7 separate regions of the Homo sapiens genome follow, and regions 2, 3, 4, 5, 6 and 7 are each linked to region 1. The links are contacts of gene promoters, found by promoter capture Hi-C in blood cells and fetal thymus (Javierre and others, 2016). All regions are on one chromosome and are shown on one strand. The core of a region is centred on a gene start or on the middle of the fragment in contact, and the rest is flanking DNA. Distances in the headings are between cores, read along the strand shown. Region 1 holds the start of TPR (translocated promoter region, nuclear basket protein). Region 2 overlaps TOR1AIP1 (torsin 1A interacting protein 1). Region 3 overlaps TOR1AIP1 (torsin 1A interacting protein 1). Region 4 overlaps LOC101928933 (a long non-coding RNA gene). Region 5 overlaps RGS2 (regulator of G protein signaling 2). Region 6 overlaps CEP350 (centrosomal protein 350). Region 7 holds the start of QSOX1 (quiescin sulfhydryl oxidase 1).

Region 1 (2,639 bases), core at 79-2,578:
AGGGAAGGGATTGAATATCATGTTCAGCATAGTATCAGGAACATGTAAGACATTCAATATTTATGGTGCAAATTAATAAATAGAATGCAATGTACTATACTCAGCTCTGGGATCAGAGAACTAATTTTCAAGGTCAATTCTGCTTGACAGTTACACTTTTTTTGAAGTAAAAACTTGTTCAGAATTTCCAGTCAACTTAGCAAGAACAGTATGAACCTCCCCAAACAAATGGTAAACCAAAACACATTAACGGGAAGTTTGTATTTTACTAATGGTAATGACTATATTCTTCATATTTTTTTCAAGGATGTTCAAGCCATTATTGTCAGTAACTTTCTTACTTAAAGGCCTACTTTAGGTAATTACAAGAAAATTTTAATGTTTTCTATCAAACTCCAACTTTTTAAGAGAAATCAAGATATATTAAATTTATGTACTGCACATTCACTGTGTTTCCAGCGCTCTTATGCACCTAATATTCATTTTTGTAAACATCTGATTCGTTCTGGAGCCACGGGACGACGCACACACTAAGAACAAGTGCACAGAGTGGTCAATTTGGCAAAGGCCTAGAATGCAGGTGCCTAGAAAATAGGGCGGAGCCACTATCAGTTGAAGTGCAACAAAACATATAAGGTACTCTAGGCTTAGAGAGATGGGTTCGCAGACTCTATCAAGTCTGTTTCCCGTCTGCCGGACGAAGGAAAATAAGCGTCCCTGTATGAGCCTACCCTAACTACAAAGAAAATGCTACTGAACTTAGATTCAGATTTTTTTTTCAAAGGCTTCTTATCAAACTGTAAGGAGCAGGAAAGCGAAGGCTCAGGATATCCACAGAGCCCAGGAAGTGAGGTTAACAGAGCGGTACCCAGTGCCAACTTGATGGGGGAAGACCAGACCCAAAGGGCGGGAGTCGAGCCCAAAACCAAGGACGGAAAGAGCATCTCACTTACCGCTCTCCACCTTAAATTTCTCATGCCGCCCCTTCAGGCCATCGATCTCGGATTGCTGATCAGCAAGGAACTTTTCAAGTTTGTTCTGGACAGACTTGGGCAGCTTGTTCAGCTCCGTGCGCTCCAGGACTTGCTGCAACACCGCCGCCATGTCGGTGGGGCCAGGGACCCCAGTGGCAGCGGCCGACGGGGTAGAAGCGGAGAAGAAAGGCGAAGACCAGCAGGACCCAGACGCCTGGGCCGCCGCCTCTATCACCTCGCTCGGTGGCTCGCGCGCGCCCGCCCGCCGGAGACTCCCGCGGCGGGACCCTGGGAAATCGAGTCCACCCTCAGCGGCAGCGTTTCAGCAACAGCACCTCACCGCCCGCGACCGAAGTGCGCGCGCAGCCGTTGGAAGCTACGAACCCTGGGAACCCGAGCTCAGAGGCTATCCCTGATCCTCTTGCGCACCCAATTTTCCGGCTTCCAGCTCCACCCACTTCAGGCCTTGTAGGGCTCTGGGAAATGTAGTGTTTTTCTCATTCTTTTCCGGGAGCCCAATGCTGCACCGCCCTCTCAGCTTCCGTTTTTCTCCCCGCTCCCCTGGCTCTCCTATCTCGGCCCCGTAACCGCTGTCCGCACGGTGGCGCCACATACGTACTCGTCACCCCTTGGCCCTCCCTGAAGAGCTGGTGACCTTACCGTCAAAGCCCCGGGATGCCATGGATCGTCCTCGTTGGCGGCTTCTGGACACTGAGCCACTAGAGGGCATCGGTCCCGGTAGGGCCGGACGGCAGGCTCCGGGATACCGCCACGCTCTCTATGGCGCCCAGAAGGGGGCGGGGTGGCGACCGCAGTCGCTTTGGCTGAGGCTCTGCGGGGAAGGGAGGGGGGGCTTTTACGTCATCAATCTGCGCCACCTGACTCCCAAGTCCCTGGCTTTGGAGTGGGAAGTGAGGTGTGGGAAGTAGGTCGCTTTCTGATGAATTCAGTGGCAGTGAATTGAGACCGGAGGGAATCTGGCCCCTAGAGGCTGGTACTTGGGCCCGAAACCCCCATCTCCGGCGGAGAGACCGTCCGAGGTAATTGTCTGCCACGAGTGCACATTCTGAAAACAGGTAAGTCAGCCTAAGTGTAGTGTGTGTGTGTGTGTGTGTGTGTGTGTGCTCTCTTTTCAAGAGAAAAAGGAAGGGACAGTGTTGGAACCATATGGACAGTCACTCCGGCACACACTTCTGACGAACTTACCTTGTGTGAAACGGCGTACCTAAATGGTTTTTGGTGGTGGGGAGGTGGCACTGAGTGATTCAGTACCCGGGAATTTAAGGACCCGGGTTAATTCTTCAGGAGGAGAATTAAAAGAAACCGGTAGCACTTTGAGTGTAGCCTATGTTTTAAATTTTTCGTTGCAGAAACGGTTACCTAACATTATATTGTTTTTAAAATTGAAAACTGTTGTAACTGAAGTTTTTAAACACATTGTTAATTTCTACAGTAACAGAACTTGTATGGTTCCAGATCATAATTCTGTAGTTTTAAAGCTCAATCCGTAGATTGTTTCGTGTTTACTCTTATGAAAGAATTTGTTAAATTATTCATTGTAAATAATGCATTCCCAGTGTCGTCTCTCTGCAGTTCCCACAGTCGTGGGCCTTCTGTGAATTGGTGATTTAGTTCTTATATGAAATTTATTCTTTTTCTCTAGTT
Region 2 (2,639 bases), core at 78-2,577, 6.5 Mb before region 1:
CCTGCCAAGTAGCTGAGACTATGCATCCACCACCACGCCTGGCTGATTTTTGTATCTTTTGTAGAGATGGGGTTTTGCCATGTTACCCACATGATCTCAAACGCCTGGGTAAGTGATCCACCCACCTCAGCCTCCCAGAGTGCTGGGATTACAGGCATGAGCCACGGCACCTGGCTTACTTTTCTGCACTTTCTTGTTTATTTTTACTTAACATATATACAGAGATATTTCTATATTCATATATAAAAAGCTTCCTTTTTTAAAGAGATTGTTTCTTATATATTCCTGTGATTCTTTATGATGATTTTAAACTATGGTCAGGGACTTTATTCTTCCAGTATACTGCTAACAAAAAATTCAAGCTGGAGCTCTGTGGCACAGAACGACAAAATGTCCCTCCCTCAGTTATCTTTTTGACTAAAACGATTAAAAGTATTGCCCTGAAATTGATTTCATGACTATGAAGAAAACTAGTAAAGACACTCCAAGCAGTCTACTTTTACTTCATTTTCCTTGTTTTTTTGGCTCTTAAAGATGCTTTATCATGGGAACTAAAAAGGAAATGTATTTATCTTTATATTAGGCTTCTGTACCTTCCCATTCTCTTTATCAAAGAATGATGTTGATTTATTTCGATAGATAGTTGACTATCCTTTTAAGTATTCCAGTGGTAAAGATCTACTAAGGTTTTGTTAATGAACCTGTGGTAAAGAACCATATGATGCATTTCCTTTTCAACCCTAATCATTCTCTTGCTATGTCTCTTGCAGATTCGACATACAAAACAAATAGAAATACTAAAATGAGTGAATTATGTTCGTTTATTTCTATTCTTTTTTTTTTCCAGGCAGGGTCTCACTCTCACCCAGGCTGGAGTGCGGTGGCGTGATCTTGGCTCACTGCAGCCTCCTCCTCCTATTGTAGTCCCAGCTACTCTGGAGGCTCAACTGAGCCTCCTACTTCAGCCTCTGGAGTAGCTGGAACTACAGTCATGCATCACCATGCCTGGCTGATTCCTGTGTTTTTTATAGAGATGGGGTTTCACCATGTTGCCCAGGCTAGTCTCGAATTCCTGGGCTCTAGCAATCCACCCGCTTTGGCCTCCCAAAGTGCTGGGATTATTGGCATGCACAACTGCGCCCAACCCTATCTCTAATTCTTACAAGGTCTCTTTGAGGGTCCAGATTAATAGAATACAAGAGTATATATATCTAGTCATTGGCTTGAGAATACTAATTTATTATGTCAGTTTGTGGGGACCCAGTCCCTATGACTAGGACCTCCCATAAACAGCCTTGGTTTTTGTTGTCTATAATTATGCCTATATTATTGCTTAAATTCATATAAAAACATGTAATCAATTTAGTCCTGCTAGTCTTCATTAAATTCACACTATTAGGAAAAAGGAGATAACAACTTACCAATTAAGGTTTTTCTCTTGATTTATTTTTTGTTTTTGTTTTTCTGAGACAGAGCCTTGCTCTGTCACCCAGGCTGTAGTACCGTGGTGCGATCTCGGCTCACTGCAACGTCTGCCTCCCAGGTTCAAGCAATTCTCCTGCCTCAGCCTCCCAAGTAGCTGGGATTACAGGTGCCCACCACCACGCCCAGCTACTTGTTTTGTATTTTTAGTAGAGACAGGGTTTCACCATGTTGGCCAGGCTGGTTTCAAACTCCCTGACCTTGTGATCTACCCCACTTGGCCTCCCAAAGTGCTGGGATTACAGGCATGAGCCACCACGCCCGGCCTTTCTCCTTGATTTTTATTTTTATTTTTTATTTTTATTTATTTATTTATTTTTATTTTCTCGAGACAGGCTCTTGCTCTATCACCGAGGCTGGAGTGCAATGGCGTGATCTTGGCCCACTGCAACTTCTGCCTCCCTGGTTCAAGTGATTCTCCTGCCTCAGCCTTTCAAGCAGCTGGGATTACAGATGACCACCATGACACCCAGCTAATTTTTGTATATTTAGTAGAGATGGGGTTTCACCATGTTGGTCAGGCTGGTCTCGAACTCCTGACCTCAAGCAATCCACCTGCCTCGGCCTCCCAGAGTTTTGGGATTGTAGGCGTGAGCCACCACACCTGGCCCTTTCTTCATTTAGAAAGTGAATTCGATACGTTGTTCACGGCGAGTTCAGTGTCCTTTGCTGTAATACGTTCGTTGAACGGGTTTTAATTCATTTCAGTGTCTGCCTGGCTATAGGACATGACATACCATGATTTGTGGTTTTAAATGAATCTACATTGAATGTTGTTAGACTTAGTTTTTTTTACATTTTAATTATTTTCTAAATTTGAAGATGAGCCAAAAGGGAAACGCTTCATTTTTCTTTATAAATCATTGTACCTTCCTCTAATTCATCTTTCACTTAAGTTCAGGCCACTTCTTTAGAGACTTAAAAAAGCTTTTTAGGCTGGGTGTGGTGGCTCACGCCTATAATCCCAGCACTTTGGGAGGCTGAGGTGGGCAGATCACCTGAGGTCAGGAGTTCAAGACCAGCCTGGCTGGCATGGCAAAACCCCGTCTCTACTAAAAGTACAAAATTAGCCAGGCGTGGTGGTGCTGTGCACTGTAACCCCAGCTGCTTGAGAGTCTGAGGCAGGAGAATCACTTATACCCAGGATGCAGAGGTTG
Region 3 (2,639 bases), core at 102-2,601, 6.5 Mb before region 1:
CTCCCGAGTAGCTGGGACTACAGGCGCCCACCACCACGCCTGGCTAATTTTTTATATATTTAGTAGAGACGGGGTTTCACCGTGTTAGCCAGGATGGTCTCGATCTCCTGACCTCATGATCCACCTGCCTTGGCCTCCCAAAGTGCTAGGATTACAGGCATGAGCCACCGCATCCAGCTGATTTTCCCTTATTTATAAAATACGAACAGTAATAGCATCTACCACATAAGAATTAAGCAAAATTGGCTGGGCATGGTGGCTCATGCCTGTAATCCCAGCACTTTGGGAGGGCGAGGCAGGCAGAGCATTTGAGGTCAGGAATTTGAGACCAGCCTGGCCAACATGGTGAAACCCTGGTCAGGAGTTTGAGACCAGCCTGGCCAACATGGGGAAACCCTGTCTCTACTAAAAAGACAAAAAATTTGGTCAGGCATGGTGGTGCACACCTGTAATCCCAAGTACTTGGGAAGGTGAGGCAGGAGAATATCTTGAACCTGGGAAGCGGAGGTTGCAGTGAGCTGAGATTGTGCCACTGCATTCCAGCCTGGGTGACAGAGTCAGACCCTGTCTCAAAAAAAAAAAAAAAAAAAGAATTAAACAAAATTATACTTGATATATATGACTATATGTAGTTTTTATTTTGATGGTACTGATCCTAAACTAACTCCTTATTGTTGCCCAATTCCTAAACATTTTGAAGTTTAGAAATGAGGGGGAAAGAAATACACACACACTTTATATATATATATATATATATATATGTATATATATGTATATATATAGTATATGTATGTTTTTTATATATATATACTTTATATATTTATATGCTTGGAATTGATGAGAGAATGTTTTTTGTCTGTTGTTTGTTTTTAGTATCCACAGTAAACAAGCAAAATGTCTGTGCAACATCTTTTTTGTTGTTATTTTCAAGTATTCTATGACCTTATCCCTGTTTTCTGTTTCAGGTCAAAACTTCACAGCTCATGATAAGCAACCTTCAGTGCTAAGTAAGTAGTTGGTTGTCTGCTCTTTTTTCAGCCAATCAATTCTTTTCTCTTTTTTTTTTTTTTTTTTTTTGAGACGATGTCTTGCTCTGTCGCCCAGGCTGGAGTGCAATCTGGGCTCATTGCAAGCTCCACCTCCTGGGTTCACGCGATTCTCCTGCCTCCGCCTCCCAAGTAGCTGGGACTACAGGCGCCCGCCACCACGCCCGGCTAATTTTTTGTATTTTTAGTAGAGACGGTGTTTCACTGTGTTAGCCAGGATGGTCTTGATCTCCTGACCTCATGATCCACCTGCCTCGGCCTCCCAAAGTGCTGGAATTACAGGTGTGAGCCACCGCACCCAGCCTCAGTCAATCAATTCTAACCTTGCCTTATTCTCCCAACAAAAGTTGTAATAAGATTTTAAGTCATTTTACCCCTCTTTACCTTTTTAATTCACCACGGATTGGTACTACCTATAATAATTACTCTGTGATATGGAAATGTGTTCAGGGCTATTTTACCACAAGTAATTTGTATTATGTGATAATATATTTATTTGCTACCTGCTTTGCTGTAGGAAGTGGTTCATCCTCACTGATACGATCCTTTGAAATTATCTTTTACTTATAAAACTATTGCTTTTATTGTTTTCTTCCCCTACTTTATTTTGTCTTTCTGATAGATTAATTTTATAACACTGGAATATGGTATAAACTTTCAAAGTATGGGAAATTATCTTTTGATATATGTATTTGCTTCAGGCTCAGGATATCAAAAAACTCCCCAGGAATGGGCCCCACAAACTGCAAGAATAAGGACCAGGATGCAAAGTAAGTAGATAAATCTCTGTTATTGAAATAATCTTGTGTATTTGCTATGTTTTTCTTGACAAAAATATTTAGTTCTTCAGATAAACATTTAGGTTGTTTGTGATTTCACTAATAAAGTACAGCTATGATTACTAGTTTAGTAATTTCTTGGACTGGCAGCACATGGGCTGGGTGTAGAATGTAAATAGTGGCGTGAGAAAACCAGAGATTGGCCAGGTGCGGTGGCTCACGCCTGTAATCCCAGCACTTTGGGAGGCCGAGGTGGGTGGATCACGAGGTCAGGAGATCGAGACCATCCTGGCTAACACGGTGAAACCTCGTCTCTACTAAAAATATTTAAAAAAGAAAAATTAGCTGGGCGTGGCGGCGGGAGGCTACTCGGGAGGCTGAAGCAGGAGAATGGTGTGAACCCAGGAGGCGGAGCTTGCAGTGAGCCAAGATTGCACCACTGCACTCCAGCCTGGGCGACAGAGCGAGACTCCATCTGAAAAAAAGAAAAAAAAAGAGAAAACCAGAGATTGATGGATTTTAACAAGCTGTCAGTTATAGCAGCAATACAGTCTGTATACAATAATGAAATTCTACTCTTTTGACAATACTTATTTTTTGCTTTTAGCAGATTTTGGAACAGCTTTGTATACTCATAATTTTACATAATAAAGGCTGAAATGCACAAGTTATATTTTCATGTTTAGGGTTTTTTTTCTGTTTTTTGTTTTGTTTTGTTTTGTTTTGTTTTGTTTTGTTTTGTTTTTGAGATGGAGTCTTGCTGTGTTGCCCAGGCTGGAGTACAGTGGTGCAACCTCAGTTCACTGCAACCTCT
Region 4 (2,639 bases), core at 83-2,582, 6.4 Mb before region 1:
AAAATGCTCATCATCACTGGCCATCAGAGAAATGCAAATCAAAACCACAATGAGATACCATCTCACACCAGTTAGAATGGCAATCATTAAAAAGTCAGGAAACCACAGGTGCTGGAGAGGATGTGGAGAAATAGGAACACTTTTACACTGTTGGCGGGACTGTAAACTAGTTCAACCATTGTGGAAGTCAGTGTGGCGATTCCTCAGGGATCTAGAACTAGAAATACCATTTGACCCAGCCATCCCATTACTGGGTATATACCCAAAGGACTATAAATCCTGCTGCTATAAAGACACATGCACACATATGTTTATTGCGGCATTATTCACAATAGCAAAGACTTGGAACCAACCCAAATGTCCAACAATGATAGACTGGATTAAGAAAATGTGGCACATATACACCATGGAATACTATGCAGCCATAAAAAATGATGAGTTCACGTCCTTTGTAGGGACATGGATGAAATTGGAAATCATCATTCTCAGTAAACTATCGCAAGAACAAAAAACCAAACACTGCATATTCTCACTCATAGGTGGGAATTGAACAATGAGATCACATGGACACAGGAAGGGGAATATCACACTCTGGGGACTGTTGTGGGGTGGGGGGAGGGGGGAGGGATAGCATTGGGAGATATACTTAATGCTAGATGACAAGTTAGTGGGTGCAGCGCACCAGCATGGTACATGTATACATATGTAACTAACCTGCACAATGTGTACATGTACCCTAAAACTTAAAGTATAATAAAAAAATAAAATAAAAATAAATCCAAAAATAAATAAATAAATAAATAAATAAAAGAAAAAGTAGCTTAGAGCCAGGATGGGTAGAGTTGATTCTGCCCTACCGTTCCCTAGGGGTAGTTACTTCTTACTGGAACTGCTGCTAATTTACCTTCAAGGTAGTTGCTGCTGTTTTTTCTTAAATTTTGGCTTAAACTTCGATAAAAATAACAACTGTATTTGTCTGTCCAGGGTTACAAAGAGGAAAAGTTTCTTAAGCCTCAAATCAGTAGGATATCATTTCAACTGTGTGAAGTTATTTTCTTGTAACCTTTATGCCTCCTTCTTGGCTGTTCTTTCTCCCATTCCCCACTAGTATATTAAAATTTCTATTATTTATTTTTATTTTAAAAATTTATTATTTAATATTTTGAAAATAAAAAAGCTACAAAGATAATAATACAATCATCTGTGTATCCACACCTAGCTTAAGAAATCAAATGTTACCAACATAGTTGAAGCTTCCTATGTTCACCCCTACCACATATTAATCTCTTCTGCTCCCTCAGGAGGTAATCACTTTTCTGAATTTAGTATTTTTTATTCCTCAGCACTTAAAAATCTTTTACTACATTTGTATGTGTTCCTAAATAATCTATACCAGTACTGTGCATGCTTTTAAGCTTTATGGAAGTGGCATCATACTATATATATCTATCTGCAACCTTTTTATTTTTATTTTTTGAGACGGAGTCTCGCTCTGTCGCCAGGCTGGAGTGCAGTGGCATGATCTCGGCTCACTGCCACCTCCGCCTCCCGGGTTCAAGCGATTCTCCTGCCTCAGCCTCCCGAGTAGCTGGGACTACAGGCGCCCACCACCACACCCAGCTAATTTTTTTGTTTTTTTGAGATGGAGTTTTGCTCTTGTTGCCCAGGCTGGAGTGCAATGGTGCGATCTCGGCTCAGCACAACCTCGGCCTCCTGGGTTCAAGTGATTCTCCTGTCTCAGCCTCCCGAGTAGCTGGGATTATAGGCATGCACCACCATGCCTAGCTAATTTTTTGTATTTTTGGTAGAGATAGGGTTTCTCCATGTTGGTGAGGCTGGTCTCAAACTCCCGATCTCAGATGATCCACCCACCTCAGCCTCCCAAAGTTGTGGGATTACAGGCGTGAGCCACCGCGTCTGGCCTGCAATCTGCTTTTTAAAAATTATATTTGTGTGATACATCCTTAAATTTATTTTCACTGTTTCTTGGTCTTTCATTGTATGAATATTCCTCAGTTTACTACCCATTCTTTTATTGATGGACATGTTATTTCCTATTTTTGCTATTATAAACGATGCTTCTGTAAAATTCCTTGTACTTGTCTCCTTGTGCACCTGGGTGAGTTTCTTACGGCGGCGAACCATTTAATCCAAGTCTGCAGTGAGATAAGAAGCTTGTGTAAAAATATATATCATCATACTGTCTCCTTCATTAAGGAAGTCTTATCTAAAAAAAGTCAGCTTGGCTGGGCACGGTGGCTCACGCCTGTAATCCCAGCACTTTGGGACGCCGAGGCGGGCAGATCACGAGGTCAGGAGATCGAGACCATCCTGGCTAACACGGTGAAACCCCATCTCTACTAAAAATACAAAAAATTAGCTGGGCGTGGTGGCGGGCGCCTGTAGTCCCAGCTACTGGGGAGGCTGAGGCAGGAGAATGGCGTGAACCCGGAGGGCGGAGGTTGCAGTGAGCCGAGATCCCGCCACTGCACTCCAGCCTGGGGGACAGAGTGAGACTCCGTCTCAAAAAAAAAAAAAAAGTCAGCTCATCCCTAAATAGTATATTTAGTGACATAGTTGATTTACATCCTTGCATGAGTTCTTTATCTTATTGGTCTAGTAACAAAGAGTTTGAGAAT
Region 5 (2,639 bases), core at 53-2,552, 6.4 Mb after region 1:
GGTAAAAATGCGTTCAGCTGCAGTAGCATATTCAAGTGTTGCTAGTTAGTAATTATCTTTTTAATTTTTTGTTTTAGTTTAAAAGATTGGAAGACCCGTTTGAGCTACTTCTTACAAAATTCCTCTACTCCTGGGAAGCCCAAAACCGGCAAAAAAAGCAAACAGCAAGCTTTCATCAAGTAAGTTGAGAATCCTGTGCTTGCAAATATCAATAGTTAGCTGCTGAACTGAAAAGGGGAACTCTGATGTGCGTAAGCTAACATACAGAACCTCTCTTGCAGGCCTTCTCCTGAGGAAGCACAGCTGTGGTCAGAAGCATTTGACGAGCTGCTAGCCAGCAAATGTAAGTTAACTCTTGAGCTTGAGCCATTGCTAACATCGCAAAAGCCTGGAAAGGCTGCGTCCACCTAACAAAAGAGCAGCTTGCCTGAGGGGGATTAGACTGCAGTCACTATAGGATAAAGCCTGTTTTTCTTTCCTTTATTTCCCAGGGTTTAACAAATAAATGCATATATTCTCTCCAGGTGGGGAAGAAAATCAGCCTAAACAAATTAAAGTGGCAGTTGCTTATAGTTAAGGTTGAGTCAGTTTTTCCATTGCATACAATGTTTTCAAGAGGCTTAGTTCCCAGAGAATTTATGGCTCCCCTATAAATATTTACTTTGCATTGACAGCAAAGTACTTATATTTTTGCAGCAGAGTGCCAACATAAGCCTTTTGCCTACTGGTATCTTAGTCTTTAAAAAGCTAAATTTTGAGAATTACAGGTTTGAGCGAAATCTAGAAAATTCATTTAGAAATAATTAAAATGTGAGGGATAGGAGAAACATAAGGAATCATTTGGTCTCTCAGTTCTTCACATTCTGCATGCTCTCTTTTCTCCCCCCTTCAGATGGTCTTGCTGCATTCAGGGCTTTTTTAAAGTCGGAATTCTGTGAAGAAAATATTGAATTCTGGCTGGCCTGTGAAGACTTCAAAAAAACCAAATCACCCCAAAAGCTGTCCTCAAAAGCAAGGAAAATATATACTGACTTCATAGAAAAGGAAGCTCCAAAAGAGGTAAGGAAACAAGTTCCTAATTTCAGCACAATCTGGACATCTTTAGCACAAAAGTGAAACAAAGTAATCAAGGACAAAGCGGGCTAGGAGGGGTAAAAAGTCCCTCCACGTTGTAGCTTTCAGTTATGTTAAAGTTCTCCTGTGACTTAGCTAGTAAAGCTAATCACACATAATTTTTATTTTTTGTTTTCAAATACTAAATTTTAATCTTTAACTCTGAATACCAAATAAACAACTTTTTTGTTTTATTTCAGATAAACATAGATTTTCAAACCAAAACTCTGATTGCCCAGAATATACAAGAAGCTACAAGTGGCTGCTTTACAACTGCCCAGAAAAGGGTATACAGCTTGATGGAGAACAACTCTTATCCTCGTTTCTTGGAGTCAGAATTCTACCAGGACTTGTGTAAAAAGCCACAAATCACCACAGAGCCTCATGCTACATGAAATGTAAAAGGGAGCCCAGAAATGGAGGACATTTCATTCTTTTTCCTGAGGGGAAGGACTGTGACCTGCCATAAAGACTGACCTTGAATTCAGCCTGGGTGTTCAGGAAACATCACTCAGAACTATTGATTCAAAGTTGGGTAGTGAATCAGGAAGCCAGTAACTGACTAGGAGAAGCTGGTATCAGAACAGCTTCCCTCACTGTGTACAGAACGCAAGAAGGGAATAGGTGGTCTGAACGTGGTGTCTCACTCTGAAAAGCAGGAATGTAAGATGATGAAAGAGACAATGTAATACTGTTGGTCCAAAAGCATTTAAAATCAATAGATCTGGGATTATGTGGCCTTAGGTAGCTGGTTGTACATCTTTCCCTAAATCGATCCATGTTACCACATAGTAGTTTTAGTTTAGGATTCAGTAACAGTGAAGTGTTTACTATGTGCAACGGTATTGAAGTTCTTATGACCACAGATCATCAGTACTGTTGTCTCATGTAATGCTAAAACTGAAATGGTCCGTGTTTGCATTGTTAAAAATGATGTGTGAAATAGAATGAGTGCTATGGTGTTGAAAACTGCAGTGTCCGTTATGAGTGCCAAAAATCTGTCTTGAAGGCAGCTACACTTTGAAGTGGTCTTTGAATACTTTTAATAAATTTATTTTGATAAATAATATTGAACACTTGGAGTCTAGATGTGATTTTATTTTTGATAACTGGAAATGTGGCAGATAAAGGGAAAACATCTTTATAGTAAAAGACATTTCAGTTTTTGTGCCTGCCCAGTGAGAATTGACAGTCTTCAGAACTGAGAAATGATAGTTGCAGACAGATAATTCTTTTTTTAAAACCTATAAGCATTATGCAGACCTAAGGAAGTCACATCCTTAGAACCACTGCATTTATGCTTTCTAATCTTAAAAAAAAATCAAGCTTGTTAATGAAACACTGATCTAAAGGATTCTGTATCTAAGTACCAGCTAAATATGAGAAGTAAATGTAATGGAGACAAGCACAAAAATTATTCACATAATTAAGCTTCTCAAATGAAGAAAGAAGCCAAATAAGGTCAATGTATGCCTGTCTTTATTTACTTTCCATTGGTTCCAAGCTCCCCCACAAGTACCAGCATG
Region 6 (2,639 bases), core at 43-2,542, 6.3 Mb before region 1:
TTATATAAATGGCATCATTACAGTATGTGGCCCTTTGTAACTGACTTCTTTCACTTAGCATGATGTTTTCAAGTTTCATGCATGTTGTAGCATGTATCACTACTTTGTTTATATGGCCAAATTATATTCTATTGCCTGGATATCCCACATTTTATTTATCCATTCATCAGTTGGTGGACATTTGGGTTGTTTCCACTTTTTAACTATTATAAGTAATGCTGTGAACATTCACATATAACCTTTTGTGTGGATATGTTTTCATTTCTCTTGAGTATATATTTAGGAATGGAATTGCTGGGTCATGTATGGTAGCTCTATGTTTAAATTTTTGAAGAATTGCAAAACTATTTTCCAAAGTAACTGCAGCATTTTATACTATTTTCCCACCACGTAAAATTTTTCTACAGTCCTCACCAATGCTTGTTGTTTTTTTTGTTATAGCCATCTTAGGGGGGACCATGCATACTTGTATCACCAGAACTTAGCAAAGTACCTAGCACACAGTAGGCAATCTACTACAAGTTTATTGAGTGAATGATTAGCATATAACTACTAATTGGTAGAATTGGGATTCAACCCCATGTCCTTCTGACTTGAAAGTCCCTACTGTGTGCTGCATTACATCTTTTACCTTATTGCTTTATTAGAAGATTTATGTTTTCAAAAACTTATTAAACCAAACAATTGCATTATATTCTGATAAGTACTGTCATAGAAATATACACAAAAAAACAGTATGAACACAGGGACAGAAGTGACCAAAGCTTCCTTGAGAGTTGGGGTGGGATCCATGGAGTTTCTTAGAAATAACACTTGAACTGATTCTTGAATTCCATAGGTCGTTAGGCAGACACAGCAGCAAGGGCATTTTGGAAGAGGAAATAAGCATGTGCTGAGGATCCTAAGTATATTAACCTGGCTTGTGTAATGAATGAATAAACCAAGAAATGTAAGGAGGAGAAAGCTTGGGGGAATATACGTTTCGTTTGTTGGCTGAGGAATAGCCAAAATCAGAAGTTCACATGGCATTTCAATACTTGAAGCTTAAAATCAAGGGAAGGGCAAAGATAATGATACAAATTTGAGGCTCACTCTAAATGATAGTAGTTGAAGTTATGGTTAAGATTGCCCAAGGAGAATATGTAATATAAAAGAGAAAGAGGGCCAGCATGGTGGCTTACATCTGTAATCCCAGCACTTTGGGAGACCGAGGCAGGTGGATCATCTGAGGTTAGGAGTTCAAGATCAGCCTGGCCAACATAGCGAAGCCCCATCTCTACTAAAAATACAAAAAAAAAATTAGCCAGGTGTTGTGGCACATGCCTGTAATCCTAGCTACTCGGGAGGCTGAGGCAGGAGAATCTCTTGAATCCAGGAAGTGGAGGTTGCAGTGAACCAAATTGTGCCACTGCACTCCAGCCTGGGCGACAGAATGAAACTCCTCAAAAAAAAAAAAAAAAAAAAAGAAAAGAAAAGGACCAAAACAGAACCATCAATTTTAAGGAAAGACAGAAAAATTTAAAGCAAATGAAAGAAACAAGGAAAGCTTGTTAGAGAGATGGGAAAAGCAGGTGAGAGTAAAATCATAGGATATAAGAAGGGAGGGCTCTTTTATTTAACATTTAATTTTGACATGATTTCAAGCTTATAGAAAAGTTGCAAGAATAATAGAAAGTCCTCAAATATCTTTCATCCAGATTATTCTAACATTTTACTACATTTTATTTAGCAAGTAGAGCTTTTAAAGAAGGAGATATGGTCAACATCTAATATTGCAAAGCAATAAATTATGTATTGGATTTGGCAATTCAAAGTATAGATTAAGCTTATTTAGAACAGTTTTAGTAGAGCAGTTGGGGTGGAAGCAGATTGTGATAAATCGTGATGTTAATGAAAAGTAAAGAAGTGGAAACAGTGAGTAGTAGCTCCCTTTCCCAGAAGTTTGATTTTGAAATGAAAGGAAAAAAGGGAGTGATAACCTAACAACACTGCCTATTATTATTATTTAAAAGTGAAACCTTCCTCTCTCCTACTCATCTTTCTCATCTTTTCCAATATATTCTCAGACTTATGTTACTTAGCTTTTTCTGTTTTATATTACATCTTTCTTCATTTTTATCTTGACTATAAAGTACAGTCATTTGGCCAAATAAGTTTACTTTGAAGCTATAATCCTTATTTTGTTAATTTTGTTGTTGTTGTTTCCATGTATCCATAAAAAGAAGTAGCAGTGGTAGCAGCCGCCAAGAAAGTCCTTCAGTTCCATCTTGTAAGGAAAATGAGAAGAAACTTAATGGTGAAAAGATAGAGAGTTCCATTGATGAACAGGTTCAGACTGCTGCAGATGATTCTCTACGAAGTGATAGTGTTCCATCTCTTCCTGATGAAAAAGGTAACTTTCTTTGCAAATAAATGTGTAATCATTTGTTCAGAAACCAGAGGAAAGGTGATCCTTGTTATAAAGTGGCAAATAAGCTGGATGTGGTGGCTCATGCCAGTAATTCCAGCACTTTGGGAGGCTGAGCTGGGAGAATTGCTTGAGCCTAGGAGTTTGAAACCAGCCAGGGAAACATAGGGAGACCTCTGTCGCTACAAAAAAATTAAAAATTAGCCAGGCTTGGTGGCACAGCCTATGGTCC
Region 7 (2,639 bases), core at 49-2,548, 6.2 Mb before region 1:
AAAATATGTAGACATGATATGTGGGCCTCCATTTGTACTACTGACTCAGTTCTTGCAAATATTAAGGGTAGACCTGTCCCTGATCTTCGTGTGTAAAATAGCACCTCCTCTGCCACTCTATTCTTACCCCAGTCTACATTTCTTCATAACATCGGTCACCATCTGATCTACATTTACTTATGTATCATCTCTTTACCCCCACTGGAATGTAAGTTCCACGTCCCTAGAGTCTATATTTTGTTTACTGCCTTATCCTTATACCTAAACAAGTGCCTGGCATGACACCACTCAGTAAAACTTGAATAAATGAATAACAAATCTAGGCTCAAAGCTCTTACAGGTGAAAGGGGCTAACCTGGCAGTCACAAAGGAAAAATATCACTGTGACAACCGTCTGAGGAGCACCTTCTCCCCTTAAAATAACTCACTCAAAACAGTGGAGCTGCAAAGGTGACCAGAGAAAATCCATTAACACCTTAGTGCCCATGACACCAGGTGAGTTGATCGGGCTACTTGCGAGAGGGACATGTGAGTGAGCGTGGAGAGCTCTGAGTAGGCTGAAGAGCTGGATGTGGGGGATCTGGGCTGCTGGGAACCCCGAATGTTGGAATCGCCCTGACAACCTTATGAGGGTGGTCAGATATGGGTCCTGAGGAAACTGATTCCACGGCAACTGCCCGCCAACCCAGCACACCCCACAGTGAAGAGGGGCTTCTGATCCATGAGTAGGGCCCCTCAAATGATGTTCCCCTTTAGATGGTCATGGTCATCAGCAGGGGTGGGTGCATCGATCCTGTGGGGTCTTGGTGGTCGCAGACCAAGCGTCCCTCTTCTCACATCTAATTCACAACGTCTCATCGCTCCGCGGGAGCCCAGGAACTGCCCTACAACAGCCGAAATCCGGGTCGTCTATTCCAACGGACTCCTCTTCCGTTGGATACGGGGGCCGTGAGAGGCCAAACAACCTCCGCGAGGCTACCCCCGCAGCGACCGCTCGGCGGGCGCTCCATTCCTTTACCGGACTGTACACCTCGCCTCCTGGGGCCTGAGGCGGGAACCCGGGTCGCGCTGCTCCGAGGCCTCGGCGGACCGCGAAAGGATGGCTCACCACCCGGCCAGGGCCAGCCCCTGCAACAAGCTCAGCCCCGCCCGCTCCCGCGCCCAGGAGCGGCCGGCGGGGCGGGGTGGCTGGGCCGGCCTCGGGGGCGGGGGCTCGGGGGCGGGGGCTCAGGGGCGGGGCCACGTGGCTCCTCCTTGCGGGCGGAGGCAGGCGGTGCCGCGGCGCCGGGACCCGACTCATCCGGTGCTTGCGTGTGGTGGTGAGCGCAGCGCCGAGGATGAGGAGGTGCAACAGCGGCTCCGGGCCGCCGCCGTCGCTGCTGCTGCTGCTGCTGTGGCTGCTCGCGGTTCCCGGCGCTAACGCGGCCCCGCGGTCGGCGCTCTATTCGCCTTCCGACCCGCTGACGCTGCTGCAGGCGGACACGGTGCGCGGCGCGGTGCTGGGCTCCCGCAGCGCCTGGGCCGTGGAGTTCTTCGCCTCCTGGTGCGGCCACTGCATCGCCTTCGCCCCGACGTGGAAGGCGCTGGCCGAAGACGTCAAAGGTGAGAAGCGGGGGCGGCCCGCTCCCCCGTGCCCCGCCGCCCGGACCCCTCCACCTGCCCGGTGGGCAGCCTCCTACTCCGGGAGCGCGTCCCTCTTCCAGTCACCTCCGCCCACCTCTTCCTCTCCGCGCATCCCACGCCCACCACCTTCATGTTTCTCAGCTCCATTTTTGCCTCCCGCTCCCTTGCCTTTTCCTCTTGGCCCTCATCCCGAGCTTCTTTCCCTCTCCGCGGCCTGGGCCCCCAGACCTGCCCTGCTCGCCCGGTTCGTCCCCCGCCAGGTTACTGCCTCCTTCCCTGCGAGAGGTCTCCTTTGTTCCTTCCTCCGCATGGTCCGCTGACACCTTACCGTTTCCTGGGCCAGCCTTGTGGCAGTCCTCTTCCTCTCGTCCAGGGACCCATGTCATCTTCCTGCCAGGTTCCCTAGCTGCTGTGGGTCAGTGCTGGGGAGAAAAGGGAACGGACATCCATTTTGCCTCCCTGCCACCTTTCTCCACTCCCTCGACTGGTTGACCAGGTGGTACATAGACTTCCTTTCTCATTTTTGTCTTTGATGTGGGTATGTCCACCTGGCAGTTTTCCTATCTCTGTTCCGGGCCTCTCCTGACCTGCCGCCTCCAGCTCCTTAGCTTCTGGGCCACATCCTTCTCTCTCTTCCCCCGCTCAGACCCTTATATTTTAAACCCATGCACCCAGAGGCCTTTGGTGCGTGTTTGGCTCTTGCTCCATGTTCCCAATCCCTGGTTGGGGCACCAAAACTATATTTCCTGAATTCCAAGACACCATCAACTGTGAGACACACTGTTCATTTTATGACAGCCCAAGGGGTAGAAGGATAGGAAAAAACCACTACATGTATAAAGATTTGAAGGTGAACTCTATTACAGAAATGCTAAAATTTTGAAACACTTAAGACTTAGAGTCGAGGAAATATGGTAATAATAGTAATTAATATTTACGGAGCACCTATCATTTCAGGCACCTTACTAAGTACTCGGCATACATTGTCTCATAGTTTCCTTTCCACAATTTAAAGA

The links. Contacts are between HindIII fragments. The CHiCAGO score rates a contact against its expected background, and 5 or more counts as called.
Region 2: a fragment that was not itself captured here is called in contact with the fragment with the promoter of TPR in region 1 in 4 of 17 cell types (naive CD8 T cells, non-activated CD4 T cells, total CD4 T cells and 1 more); the score reaches 10.2 in naive CD8 T cells.
Region 3: a fragment that was not itself captured here is called in contact with the fragment with the promoter of TPR in region 1 in 1 of 17 cell types (total CD4 T cells); the score reaches 7.0 in total CD4 T cells.
Region 4: a fragment that was not itself captured here is called in contact with the fragment with the promoter of TPR in region 1 in 1 of 17 cell types (total CD4 T cells); the score reaches 11.9 in total CD4 T cells.
Region 5: a contact is called between a fragment that was not itself captured here and the fragment with the promoter of TPR in region 1, in 1 of 17 cell types (naive B cells). The highest score is 5.7, in naive B cells.
Region 6: a fragment that was not itself captured here is called in contact with the fragment with the promoter of TPR in region 1 in 1 of 17 cell types (total CD4 T cells); the score reaches 5.1 in total CD4 T cells.
Region 7: the fragment with the promoter of QSOX1 here is called in contact with the fragment with the promoter of TPR in region 1 in 1 of 17 cell types (monocytes); the score reaches 5.9 in monocytes.

The regions. Positions count from the first base shown.
Region 1 is chr1:186,373,925-186,376,563 of GRCh38, forward strand. TPR (translocated promoter region, nuclear basket protein) reads right to left here and starts at 1,329. Exons shown (of 51, transcript NM_003292.3): 1 at 954-1,329. The coding sequence starts at 1,104. It overlaps ODR4 (odr-4 GPCR localization factor homolog), which reads left to right and starts at 1,914. Exons shown (of 14, transcript NM_017847.6): 1 at 1,914-2,050. RefSeq lists a silencer at 464-513 and enhancers at 1,074-1,373, 1,534-1,583, 1,754-1,943. The HindIII fragment of the contact is 6,872 bases long and covers 1-2,639 here.
Region 2 is chr1:179,889,774-179,892,412 of GRCh38, forward strand. The region is part of intron 3 of TOR1AIP1 (torsin 1A interacting protein 1); the gene reads left to right. Among named protein-coding and RNA genes, the nearest start is that of TOR1AIP1, 8.8 kb to the left of the region's middle. The HindIII fragment of the contact is 2,159 bases long and covers 249-2,407 here.
Region 3 is chr1:179,906,858-179,909,496 of GRCh38, forward strand. It overlaps TOR1AIP1 (torsin 1A interacting protein 1), which reads left to right. Exons shown (of 10, transcript NM_015602.4): 7 at 966-1,007; 8 at 1,748-1,816. Among named protein-coding and RNA genes, the nearest start is that of TOR1AIP1, 26 kb to the left of the region's middle. RefSeq lists a silencer at 1,979-2,181. The HindIII fragment of the contact is 7,492 bases long and covers 1-2,639 here.
Region 4 is chr1:179,942,969-179,945,607 of GRCh38, forward strand. The region is part of intron 1 of LOC101928933 (a long non-coding RNA gene); the gene reads right to left. Among named protein-coding and RNA genes, the nearest start is that of CEP350, 11 kb to the right of the region's middle. The HindIII fragment of the contact is 162 bases long and covers 1,252-1,413 here.
Region 5 is chr1:192,810,089-192,812,727 of GRCh38, forward strand. RGS2 (regulator of G protein signaling 2) reads left to right here. Exons shown (of 5, transcript NM_002923.4): 2 at 78-179; 3 at 282-343; 4 at 893-1,059; 5 at 1,314-2,187. The coding sequence ends at 1,508. Among named protein-coding and RNA genes, the nearest start is that of RGS2, 2.4 kb to the left of the region's middle. RefSeq lists a silencer at 145-204. The HindIII fragment of the contact is 2,270 bases long and covers 168-2,437 here.
Region 6 is chr1:180,046,314-180,048,952 of GRCh38, forward strand. It overlaps CEP350 (centrosomal protein 350), which reads left to right. Exons shown (of 38, transcript NM_014810.5): 22 at 2,223-2,392. Among named protein-coding and RNA genes, the nearest start is that of CEP350, 93 kb to the left of the region's middle. The HindIII fragment of the contact is 503 bases long and covers 1,042-1,544 here.
Region 7 is chr1:180,153,571-180,156,209 of GRCh38, forward strand. It overlaps QSOX1 (quiescin sulfhydryl oxidase 1), which reads left to right and starts at 1,299. Exons shown (of 12, transcript NM_002826.5): 1 at 1,299-1,602. The coding sequence starts at 1,338. It overlaps LOC105371636 (a long non-coding RNA gene), which reads right to left and starts at 1,268. Exons shown (of 2, transcript XR_001738314.3): 1 at 429-1,268. RefSeq lists a silencer at 974-1,293 and an enhancer at 1,474-1,573. The HindIII fragment of the contact is 9,170 bases long and covers 1-2,639 here.